Linked DNA regions of Homo sapiens: all the other regions are linked to region 1. Evidence: promoter capture Hi-C in human tissues and cell types (Jung and others, 2019). All regions are on one chromosome and are shown on one strand. The core of a region is centred on a gene start or on the middle of the fragment in contact, and the rest is flanking DNA. Distances in the headings are between cores, read along the strand shown.

The links. Contacts are between HindIII fragments. The study calls those that stand out against the background at their distance.
Region 2: a fragment that was not itself captured here is called in contact with the fragment with the promoter of PALM in region 1 in 3 of the 25 tissues and cell types used here (IMR-90 fibroblasts, heart left ventricle and thymus).
Region 3: a contact is called between the fragment with the promoter of R3HDM4 here and the fragment with the promoter of PALM in region 1, in 6 of the 25 tissues and cell types used here (adrenal gland, dorsolateral prefrontal cortex, heart right ventricle and 3 more).

What each region holds. Positions count from the first base shown.
Region 1 is chr19:706,245-710,276 of GRCh38, forward strand. It overlaps PALM (paralemmin), which reads left to right and starts at 2,691. Exons shown (of 9, transcript NM_002579.3): 1 at 2,691-2,907. The coding sequence starts at 2,903. RefSeq lists an enhancer at 1,688-2,248 and a silencer at 1,701-1,937. The HindIII fragment of the contact is 30,523 bases long and covers 1-4,032 here.
Region 2 is chr19:513,321-517,169 of GRCh38, forward strand. The region is part of intron 1 of TPGS1 (tubulin polyglutamylase complex subunit 1); the gene reads left to right. Among named protein-coding and RNA genes, the nearest start is that of MADCAM1-AS1, 7.4 kb to the left of the region's middle. The HindIII fragment of the contact is 7,591 bases long and covers 1-3,849 here.
Region 3 is chr19:911,307-915,121 of GRCh38, forward strand. It overlaps R3HDM4 (R3H domain containing 4), which reads right to left and starts at 1,913. Exons shown (of 8, transcript NM_138774.4): 1 at 1,781-1,913. The coding sequence starts at 1,851. RefSeq lists a silencer at 1,731-2,070. The HindIII fragment of the contact is 36,901 bases long and covers 1-3,815 here.

The DNA.
Region 1 (4,032 bases), core at 1,441-3,940:
CGGCCCACTGCAACCTCCGCCTTCCAGGTTCAAGTGATTCTCCTGCCTCAGCCTCTGGAGTAGCTGGGATTACAGGCATGCACCACCACGCCCGCCTAATTTTGTATTTTTAGTAGAGACGGGGTTTCTCCATGTTGCTCAGGCTGATCTCGAACTCCAGAGCTCAGGTGATCTGCCCACCTCAGCCTCCCAAAGTGCTGGGATTACAGGCGTGAGTCACTGTGCCCGGCCCAATTTTTAATTTTTTGTAGAAATGGAAGTCTCACTAGGTAGCCCAGGGTCTTCACCTCCTGGATTCAAGTGATCCTCCTGCTTCAGTCTCCTGAAGTGTTGGGATTACATGTAACAGTCACTTCATTCACCCTGAATCATTTATGTAGGGGACAAAAATCACCGTCTCTCCAAGGACAGAACTTCTTTTTTGTTTTGTTTTGTTTTGTTTTGTTGAGATGGAGTCTTGTTCTGTCACCCAGGCTGGAGTGCAGTGGCGCGATCTCTGCTCACTGCAACTTCTGCCTCCCGGGTTCCAGCCATTCTCCTGCCTCAGCCTCCCCAGTAGCTGGGATTACAGGCGCGCACCACCATGCCCAGCTAAGTTTTGTATTTTTAGTAGAGAAGGAGTTTCACTGGCCGAGCGTGGTGGCTCACACCTGTAATCCCAGCTACTAGGGAGGCTGAGGCAGGAGAATTGCTTGAACCTGGTAGACGGAGGTTGCAGTGAGCCGAGATCGCGCCATTGCACTCCAGCCTGGGCAACAAGAGCGAAACTCCGTCCACCCCAGCCAAAAAAAGAAGTGGTTTTGCCATGTTGGCCAGGCTGGTCTCTAACTTTTGACCTCATGATCCACCAGCCTCAGCCTCCCAAAGTGCTGGGATTACAGGCGTGAGCCACCGCGCCCGGCCTGGTCTCAAACTTTTGACCTCGTGATCCACCAGCCTCAGCCTCCCAAAGTGCTGGGATTATAGGCGTGAGCCACGGCGCCTGGCCGCAAAAATGGAACTTCTGCATCACAGGTGACTAACGGTGCCAGGCACACAGTAGGTGTTCAATAAATCACTTTGGACTAAAAGAACACAGAGGCCAAGGGGAAGTGAAGAAACGACTCACAGGTCAGTTTTATTGGGTGCCTAGTGCAGGGGTCAGTACACTACGGCCCTCGGATCAGCTCTGGCCCTCTGCCTGTTTTTGTAAATAAAGTTTTATTGGGTGCCTAGTGCAGGGGTCAGTACACTACGGCCCTGGGATAAGCTCTGGCCCACTGCCTGTTTTTGTAAATAAAGTTTTATGGGCACAGAGCCATGCCCATGGTTTTACATATTGTCTCTGGCTACTTTCACTCTGCGATGGCAGAGCAGAGTCATTGCCGCAGAGACTGTGGCCTGCAATGCTGAAAATATTTACTCTCTGGCCCTTTACAGAAAAAGTTTGCCAAACCCTGAGCTAGTGTGTGCTGGGCCCTGTGCCAAGCCCTTTGTGTGTGCTCACTCAGTTAACCCTCCCACAGCCTTAAGGGTGGGGGCAGGGGGGTGGGGGGGAATAAGGCTCCGAGAGGTTGAGAAACAGACCCAGGGTCACACAGCTTGGAGATGGGTGAGCTGGGAATCAGACAGACCCGGGACCCCTGATATTCTTTAGGATCTTAGCTTTGTTAACCTTTGCTAATTTATCTTATTGTCTTAAATGCTAAAATGAATACACATTCATTGTAAAAAGGGAGGAATAAAGAAAAGGTGTTGACGGCCTTCTTCAGCCTGGGGTACATCCTGCCGTATCTTTCTCCACAGCTCATCCGGGGCTACTTTCCTTTAAATCTACAGCCATTCAGCAAACATCGGCAGAGGAGAACCGTTTTATAAGAAAACTAAGAAGTTTGGAAGAATCTTTCCTTCCTGCCCACCCTGGACCCCCATGAGTAGGTGTGCTGGGGCTGGTCTGCAGTGTTCTCACGGGAAACCAGGAAGCTGGGCCCAAGGCCTACATGTTGGGGAAGACAGGTCCTGCCTGTCTCCTGCTGTGGCTCCCCAGTGCTCTGAGGACAAAGCCTGAGCTCTCCCTGATTCTCCACCGTCCCTCTCACTCACTCTGGTCGTCTGGTCGCTGGGCCTTTAGTGAGTGTGCCATGGGGGCCCTGGGGCCGATTAAATTCCAGCCCCGGGGACCAGGCTCAGCTCCCAGCCAGGGCACAGACAGATCAGCACCTGCGGTTGTCTCCACCCCAACCCCCGGCCTTTGCAGGCACAGCGCCCTCCACCAGATACTCCGGCAAAGGAGGCCTGGGGACCCTGCGAGCGGGGCCGGGGGTGCAGGGAGCTGTCAGCTCCTCGCAGCGGCCTCCCCAGGACCCCCCTATCCCCTCGCTCGCCCTGAAATGTGTGTCCCTCTCGGCGTCTGGGCTCTCGAGAAAGGCCTTTGCTTGTCTGACTTCGCGAGGGTCCCGGCTCTGGCCCAGGAGCTGGGGAGGGGCGGGACTTGGTGACAGCCGGGTCCCAGCACCGCGCCCAGACCTAGGCCCTTCTCAGGGGTGCCCCGGGGCGGGGCGCGCGGGGCGGGGGGCGGCGGCGGCGCAGCCGGCAGGAGGCGCAGCGCCCGCTCGCAGCGCGGGGAGGTGGGAGGGGAGCGGGGCGGGGAGCGGGGCGGGCGGGAGGGAGAGGGGAGCGCGCCGGAGACGCGCGCGCCCAGCCCACCCCCCGCGCCCGCCGCCGCCCGGACAATAAACAGCAGCTTTGCGCGGGGCGATGCCCGAGCCGGTGCCGCCGCCCCCGCGCCGCGCAGCCCCGGCCGCCAGGCCTTAGCCCGCCCCGGCCCCCGCCAGGCCGCGTCCCCCTCCCCTCCCCTCCCCCGCGCGCCACCCGCGCCCGCCCCCGCCCGGCACCGCGGACCCACCCGGACCTCGGCGGGGAGATGGAGTGAGTAGGCGCGCTCGGGCCGCGGGGCTGGGGGCCCGGAGCTCCGGGAGCCGGGGAGGGGGGAGGCCCCCTCTCTCGCGCCCCATTGGGGGCGTCGCTGCCCCCGCGAGGAGCAGGAGGCGGCGCGGGGCTGCTGGGGCCGCAGCGCAGCCGGGAAGAGACTCGGGCTGGGCCGCGCCTGCCGGGAGGCCTCCCCGCTCCCGGACCCCGGCTGCCCACCCACCGGCGCGTGGGGACCCGGGCAGCGGCGGCTCGGGCCAGTCCAGGACGCGGGGAGGGGGAGGCTCGCGTCTCCGCCCGCGCCCCGCCCGCGTCTCCAGGGCGAGCCTCGGCTCTCGGCCACCTGTGGGTGGCCCCGGGGAGATGGAGCGACCCCTCCCCAGATTGCACCGGTCCGGCCTCGCGCTCACGCACCCTTCCCCCGCCCCAGTCTGAGCGCACGGCTCCTGGCGCCCTGGACGCGCGCGCGGGCCGGTGCCCCCCACCCCCGCCCTTCCCAAGGGCCTCCAGGGGTGTCCTGAGCCCCCCGCCACTGCGCAGGTCCCGAGTTACCGCTGGAGGGAGAGGGGCTGCCCTCGGCTTCCCGGGTCTCTGGGGTGTGTGAGAAGGGAGAGGAACCGGCGTTTTCCAGCGGGGCGCCTGGGTGGGATACCCTCTCGGGGAAGTGTCTCGGAGCTGGGGCTCCACTGGTGTAGCTACAGGAGTGGGCTGGCCCTGGGCTGGGATCCCTGGACCCCCGCATGGCTGCGCCTGTGTGTGTGGGGGGGGGGTGGCCAGTGGAGGCACCGAGCGAGGGCGCGTGGTCATTTCGGACACCGGTCCCCTCCTCCCGGTGCTCGGGTGCCCCTCTGCCCCTCACTCCCACAGGTGGGCACTGCACGGGCAGGGGTCAGGAGGCTCCTCCTGGGGTCACCCACCTGCCCACTTCAGGACAGGGGAGCCAGCTGCCCTGCTGAGGCCCGGGTCCCCACCCCAGCCCGAGGACCGAAGACCGGATCTGGAGGCCGCCTGTGGCCCCCTGCCCTTCCCACTGGGCGTGTTTTCTAAGCCGCCAACTTTCCCCGGGGATTCACCCGTGACCCGCCACGCCCGCGGCTGGGTGGGGGCCGCTGCCTCCCTCCCTCC
Region 2 (3,849 bases), core at 114-2,613, 190 kb before region 1:
CCTTTACTACTTGGGAGGGAAAAGGAGCGTACAGCCAGATGGGCCTAGAGTTGAATTGCAGGTCGCTGCCCTCCTGCCTCTGGGCCTCAGTTTCCTCCTCCATAGCAGAGCTTTGACCCTCGAGCTCGCTGAGATGGCACGTCCATCCCTAAGCCCTGAACTGAGCAGCAGTGATGACCAGGGAGGCACGTGTTCACCAGGCACCCACCGTGCACCGGCCCAGCATTACTGAGCACCTACTGTGCACCCGCCCAGCATTTACTGAGCACCTACTGCATGCCGGCCCTGCATTACTGAACACCTACTGCACACCAGCCCAGCATTACTGAGCACCTACTGCATACTGGCCCTGCATTACTGAGTACCTACTGCACACCAGCCCAGCATTACTGAGTACCTACTGCACACCAGCCCAGCATTACTGAGTACCTACTGCACACCAGCCCAGCATTACTGAGTACCTACTGCACACCAGCCCCACATTTACTGAGCACCTACTGCACACTGGCCCCACATTTACTGAGCACCTATTGCATCCTGGCCCAGCATTTAGTGAGCACCCACTGCACACAACCCCAGCATTACTGAGCACCTACTGTGCACTAGTCCTGCATTACTGAGCACCTGCTGCACACCAACCTGCCCCGGCCCCACATTTACTGAGCACCTATTGCATGCTGGCCCAGCATTTACTGAGCACCCACTGTACACAGACCCAGCATTACTGAGCACCCACTGCACACTGGCCCCACATTTGCTGAGCACCTACTATGTACCAGCCCTGCATTCACTAAGCACCTACTGTACACCAGCCCTGTATTACTGAGCACCCACTGCACACTGACCCTACATTTACTGAGCACCTATTGCATGCTGGCCCAGCATTTACTTCACTCCCACTGCACACCGCCCCAGCATTACTGAGTACCTACCGTGTACTGGCCCTGCATTCACTGAGCACCTACTCTACACCGGCCCTGTATTACTGAGCACCCACTGCACACCGACCCCACGTTTACTAAGCACCTATTGCTTACTGGCCCAGCATTTACTGAGCACCCACTGCACACCGCCCCAGCATTACTGAGTACCTATTGCACACCAGCCCCACATTTACTGAGCACCTATTGCATTCTGGCCCAGCATCACTGAGCACCTACTGTGTACCAGCCCTGCATTACTGAGCACCTGCTGCACACCAACCCTGCATTTACTGAGCACCTACTGCATGCTGGCTTAGCACTTCCCCGGCACCTACCACAGGTGGCCCACAGAAAGGTGAAGTCGTGTGCCCAGGTCATGCCGGAGGGAAGGCTGCCCTCCTCACCATGAAGCTGAGCTCCCAGAAGGGAAAAGCGTAAGCCCTGAGGTTGGCCACTTCCTCTCTGGGACCCTTGGCCAGACCATGGGGCTGCCCTGAGCCTCAGTTTCCCTATATGTCCCAGAGGAAGTAACAGGCCACTAGCATGAGGCCTGGCCGGGAACTGATGGGGGGAGTGAGGCCAGGGGGTTAAGCAGCCCACCCAGGGTCCTGCAGCGGCCCCCACGCTGGCCACGGTGCTCCCTGGCCACTCCCTGGTGCCCTCCACGGGAGTGTGTGTCACACTACCAGCACACGAGTGGCACGTAGTAAGGCCTCAGGCTCCTCACTGGGGCAGGGAATCGAACCCACCCCAGAGCCGGCAGCAGGGCTGACAGCCTTCTTCTGTAAGGGGCCAGATAGTGAACATTTCAGCTTTGCGTGGCAGCCTCCATCCTGACATTCAGCTCTACGGTTCTGGTCGGAAGCTGCCACAGGCCACATGTCAGCGGACTGATGTGGTTATGTTCCGATAAAGCTTTATTTACAAAAGCAGGCAGCAGGTCGTATTTGACCCTCAGGCTGACTGTGGGGCCTTGCCTGTGGGATTGTGGGGAGAGAAATACCACCACTGGCCCCGAGCAGCAACTGTCACCTGTAATCCCAGCAGTTTGGGAGGCTGAGGCAGGAGGATCGCTTGAGCCCAGGAGGTGGAGGCTGCTGTGAGCCCTGATTGTACCACTGCTCTCCAGCCTGCACAACACAGTGAGACCCTGTCTCAAAAAAAAAAAAAAAAGAAAAAATGCAATGTCAGCTGTGTTAAATGTTCAGCACAGACTGGGCGCAGTGGCTCACACCTGTAATCCCAGCACTTTGGGAGGCCGAGGTGGGCGGACCACGAGGTCACTCGAGATCCAGACCATCCTGGCCGACATGGTGAAACCCCGTCTCTACTAAAAATACAAAAATTAGCTGGGTGTGGTAACACACGCCTGTAATCCCAGCAGCTCAGGAGGCTGAGGCAGGAGAATCGCTTGAACCCGGGAGGTGGAGGTTGCTGTGAGCTGAGATTGTGCCACTGCACTCCAGCCTGACAACAGAGTGAGACACTGTCTCAAAAAAAGAAAGAGGGCCGGGCGCGGTGGCTCACGCCTGTAATCCCAGCACTTTGGGAGGCCGAGGCGGGTGGATCACGAGGTCAGGAGATCGAGACCATCCCGGCTAAAACGGTGAAACCCCGTCTCTACTAAAAATACAAAAAATTAGCCGGGCATAGTGGCGGACGCCTGTAGTCCCAGCTACTTGGGAGGCTGAGGCAGGAGAATGGCGTGAACCCGGGAGGCGGAGCTTGCAGTGAGCCGAGATCCCGCCACTGCACTCCAGCCCGGGCGACAGAGCGAGACTCCGTCTCAAAAAAAAAAAAAAAAGGAAGAAAGAAAGAAAGAAAAGAAAAAAACAAATGTCAGTTGTGTTAAATGTTGGGCACAGTATTTGGCCACATGTAAACAGGCGCTGCTGCTGCAGGGAGGGAGACCAGAGGGTCCTGGTGTTGTGGGACAAAGAGTGGAGAGACCGAAAAAGGTTCAGGAGAGTTTATCAAGGTGATCACCGGCTCAGCTGGACATACATCCAGAAAGTCTGAGCCTCGAACAAAGGGCTTTTCCTATTTTTAAACATCGTAAGGCGGGAACTACGTGAGGCGGGAAGCAAGTTACAGAGGCGAGAAACAAAGGCAGTTAAGCATTACAGCATTTCTTTTTTCTTTTTCTTTTTTTTTTTTTTGAGACGGAGTCTCGCTCTGTCGCCCAGGCTGGAGTGCAGTGGCGCCATCTTGGCTCACCGCAACCTCCACCTCCCAGGTTCAAGCGATTCTCCTGCCTCAGACTCCCGAGTAGCTGGGACTACAGACGTGTACCACCACGTCCCGCTAATTTTTGTATTTTTAGTAGAGATGGGGTTTCACCATGTTGGCCAGGATGGCCTCAATCTCTTGACCTTGTGATCCTCCCACCTCGGCCTCCCAAAGTGCTGGGATTACAGGCGTGAGCCACCGTGCCTGGCCAACATTTCTCACATCTTGAGAAAAACATGTCTTACAACCTAAACTTATCGGTTTTGTGACCCTGCAGCCGTGCTAGGGAGGTAAGCAGGAACTCGCTGGGCCTGTAATAAACTGAGGAATGTGGAGTTGGAGAGTATAGATAAGGTCCACTGACTACAGAGAGAAGACAGGCTGTTAACATTCTCTTTTAACTTGAGTGTAAGGGTGGGGGTCACACTTTGCAGCAACTTTAAGAGGATTTTAAAATTTCTATGACTACTACTATTAGGTTAGAGCTGATTTCACTAATTCCTTCTTCACTGGGGCCAGATGCCCCAGACAGATGCCTGCCGTTGATTCAAGACATTTACTGAGCACCTACTGTGGGCAGGGCAGTGTTCTGGGCACCAGGGCTATAACCAAGACGAACTTCCGGCCCTGGAGGGCAGGTGCTCACACTGGTGGGAGACATGAAGCTCACAGGGATGTGGGACAGCGAGTGAGACAG
Region 3 (3,815 bases), core at 663-3,162, 200 kb after region 1:
GGTGGCGGGCGCCTGTAATCCCAGGTACTGGGGAGGCTGCCGCAGGAGAATCGCTTGAACCCAGGAGGTGGAGGTTGCAGTGAATGAAGATCGTGCCACTGCACTCCAGCCTGGGCGATAGAGCGAGACTCCGTCTCAAAATATTAATACTACTAAAATAACCAATAAAACATTAACGATAATTAGTAATGAGACAACGGACACTCCTGTTTGCTGGGCCCGCCGCAGTGCCAGCTCGGTAACCCCCACCACTCGGAGAAGAGGCCACACTTACTATCCCATTTTACAGAAGGGGAAACTGAGGCATGGAAGCATGAAATAACCTGCCCAGGTGGCGCCGTCCGCACACGGAGGAGGCAGGAACGGAACACGCGCCGCCTCCTCGCCCTCCACCAACACGGACCCCAGGGGCGCACCCTGGGTCCCCGGGTCCCTGTGCGGGCCGGGGTGACACACGGCTGACCCCCGCACAGACCGCCCCGCTTCCGGGTCCCCCGGGAAGGACGCGCGGGCTCCTGCTTGCCAGGTTTTAACCCACAAGGGTTGTAGGGATTTACCCAAAGGAGAGCAAGGAGCCGGGTCTGCCCGGAAAGGCAGGGGGCGCGGACAAGCCCAGAGGGCGAGTGGGGCCGGGCGTGCGGCAGGGACCAGGCTGGAGCGCATGGCCACGTGGGTGAACCCCGACCCGCGGACAGGGGCCCAGGACCCTCTGGCGGGAGGCTCCATGGCTGGCACCTCGGGGCCCGGGGAGTGGGGGGGCAGACCCGGGAGTGGGGGCGCGGCCCCGGGGAGGTGGGGGGGGGGGTGGACCAGGGAGTTGGGGGGCGGACTGGGGAGGTGGGGGGACGGACCCGGGAGTGTGGGGGGCGGACCAGGGAGTTGGGGGACTGACCGGGGAGTGGGGGGACAGACCCGGGAGTGGGGGCGCGGCCCCGGGGAGGTGGGGGGGGTGGACCAGGGAGTTGGGGGGCGGACTGGGGAGTGGGGGGACAGACCCGGGAGTCGGGGCGTGGGCCAGGGCAGTGGGGGGGTCGGACAGAGGAGTTGGGGGGCGGGCCCGGGAGTGGGGGCGCGGACCCGGGAGTGGGGGCGAAGACCAGAGAGTAGGGGCACGGACCAGGGAGTTGGGGGGTGGAACCGAGGAGTTGGGGGGCTGACCCGAGGAGTTGCGGGGCGGACCCAGGAATGGGGGCAAGAACCAGGGGAGTGGGGGGGTGGAGCAGGGAGTGGGGGGACGGACCCAGGAGTGGGGGCGTGGATCAGGGCAGTGGGGGGGCGCGGACCCGGGAGTGGGGGGAGTCGGACCCGGGAAGTGGGGGCGCGGACCGGAGAGTGGGGGCACGGACCGAGGAGTTGGGGGGCGGACCCGGAGAGTGAGGGGGTGGACCCGGGAATGGAGGCGCGGACCAGTGCAGTGGGGGGGCGGACCGGGGAGTGGGGCGCGGACCGGGGATTAGGGGGCGGACCGGGGAGTAGGGGGCGGAACAGGTAAATGGGGACGTGGATCCGGGTCCCCTCCCCCAGCGAGCCCCCGGAGCGCCAGGAGGGTGTCCCCGCTGAGTAACAATGAAGACCCCCCACCCAGCCTGGGGGTCCACAGCGGGCGAGAAGGGAAGGCAGGACAGGCTGAAGCCCCGGAAGATGAGCAACGGGAGCGAGGGGAACGAAGGGAACGAGGGGAGGGAAGGGAAAGGAGGGGAGGGGAGGCGGGGAGAGGATCTCAGGGGAGGGAGCCCAGCCCGCCCCCGGCGCCCGCCGCGCCCCGCCCGCCCGCGCTCACAGCAGCCGCCGCCCGCCCGGGGTGCCCTCCGCCGCCTCCGGGCCGCACTCGGGGTTCTCCAGCGCGACCATGGCTCGCACGCTGTCGCCGCCGCCGCCGCCCGGCAGGGCCTTCACCGGGCCGGGCAGGAAGTGACGGGCGCCCGGAGGCGGGCAGGGGCGGGGCCTGGGGCTGCGCGGCGGGGCGGGGGCGCCCACCTCCCGGCTGCCGGGAACGAACGCGGAAACCCAGGCGCGCGGGGAGGGGATCCAGCCCCTGGGGGGACGAACGGGGAAACCGAGGCGCGCGGGGCGGGGATCCAGCCAACAGGGAACGAACGGGGAAACCGAGGCAGGCGGGGCCGGGATCCAGCCATCAGGGAACGAACGGGGAAACCGAGGCAGGCGGGGCCGGGATCCAGCCCCTGGGGGGACGAACGGGGAGACTGAGGCGGGAGGCGGGGCCGGCCACGATCCCTACACCCAGAAATCTAGCTCCGGGAAGGAGGGACACCTAGGCGAGGGGTCGAAAACTCAACCACAACCCTGCGTCCCGATCCGGGCTGCGGACTGAGCCAGGAATCCAGCCCAGGGAGGCGAGGAGACACGGACAGGGAAACTAAGGCCTGAGCATCGACGAGGGAGGGGACGTTCTTCTTGGAGGCAGAGGATGGCGGAAATTAAAACTGCCCGAGCCTTCCTTCCACCTGCCCCTCCCAGCCCTGGAGCCTCGGCTAGGCAACCCCTTCCCCTGCTTAGCCTCAGTTTACTCTTCTCTAAAATTAGGCCTGGTGGCCAACGTGGTGGCTCACGCCTGTAATCCCAGCACTTTGGGAAGCCAAGGCCAGTGGATCACTTGAGTCCAGGTGTCTGAGACTAGCTTGGGCAACATGATGAAAACCCATCTCTAAAATAAAAAGAAAGGGCCGGGCGCGGTGGCTCACACCTGTAATCCCAGCACTTTGGGAGGCCGAGGTGGGCGGATCACGAGGACAGGAGATCGAGACCATCCTGGCTAACACAGTGAAACCCCCTCTCTACTAAAAATACAAAAAATTAGCCGGGCGTGGTGGCGGGGGCCTGTAGTCCCAGCTACTCGGGAGGCTGAGGCAGGAGAATGGCGTGAACCCGGGAGGCGGAGCTTGCAGTGAGCCGAGATCGTGCCACTGCACTCCAGTCTGGGCGAGGAGCGAGACTCCATCTCAAAAAAATAAAATAAAATAAAATAAAGCAAGAGGGAGGCTGGGCACGGTGGCTCGCACCTGTAATACCAGCACTTTGAGAGGCCAAGGCCAGTGGATCACTTGAGGTCAGGAGTTTGAGACCAGCCTGGCCAACATGGCAAAACCCTATCTCTACTAAAACTACAAAAATTAGCCGGGCGTGGTGGTATGCACCCATAGTCCCAGCTACATGGGAGGCTGAGGCACAAGAATCGCTTGAACATGGGAGGCAAAAGTTGCAGGGAGCCGTCCACTTCACTCCAGCCTGGGCCACAGAGTAAGACTACTCTGTCTCAAAAAAAAAAAAAAAAAAAAAAAAAATAGCCAGGCACAGTGGCTCACGCCTGTAATCCCAGCACTCTGGGAGGCCGAGGCGGGTGGATCATGAGGTCAGGAGATTGTGACCATCCTGGCTAACACGGTGAAACCCCATCTCTACCAAAAATACAAAAAATTAGCCGGGCATGGTGGCAGGCGCCTGTAGTTCCTGCTACTCAGGAGGCTGAGGCAGGAGAATGGAGTGAACCCAGGAGGCAGAGCTTGCAGTGAGCCGAGATTGTGCCATTGCACTCCAGCCTGGGCGACAGAGCGAGATGCTGTCTCAAAAAAAAAAAGCAAGAAAGAAAGAAAAAGAAAGAAAGAGTAAGGAGGAAAAAGAAAAGGATGAGAAACTGTGGATGGACTCAAAAAAGCGTGCACTGTGAGATTCCTGTAGATAAATGTGCAAAGAGGTGAAAAAGGACAATGGAGAGATGTATCAGGAGTGACTGGCAGGGGAGCTGGGCATCGGGAATGAGTGGTTTCCCCATCCATCAGGCACAGGGTAAGGGTAGA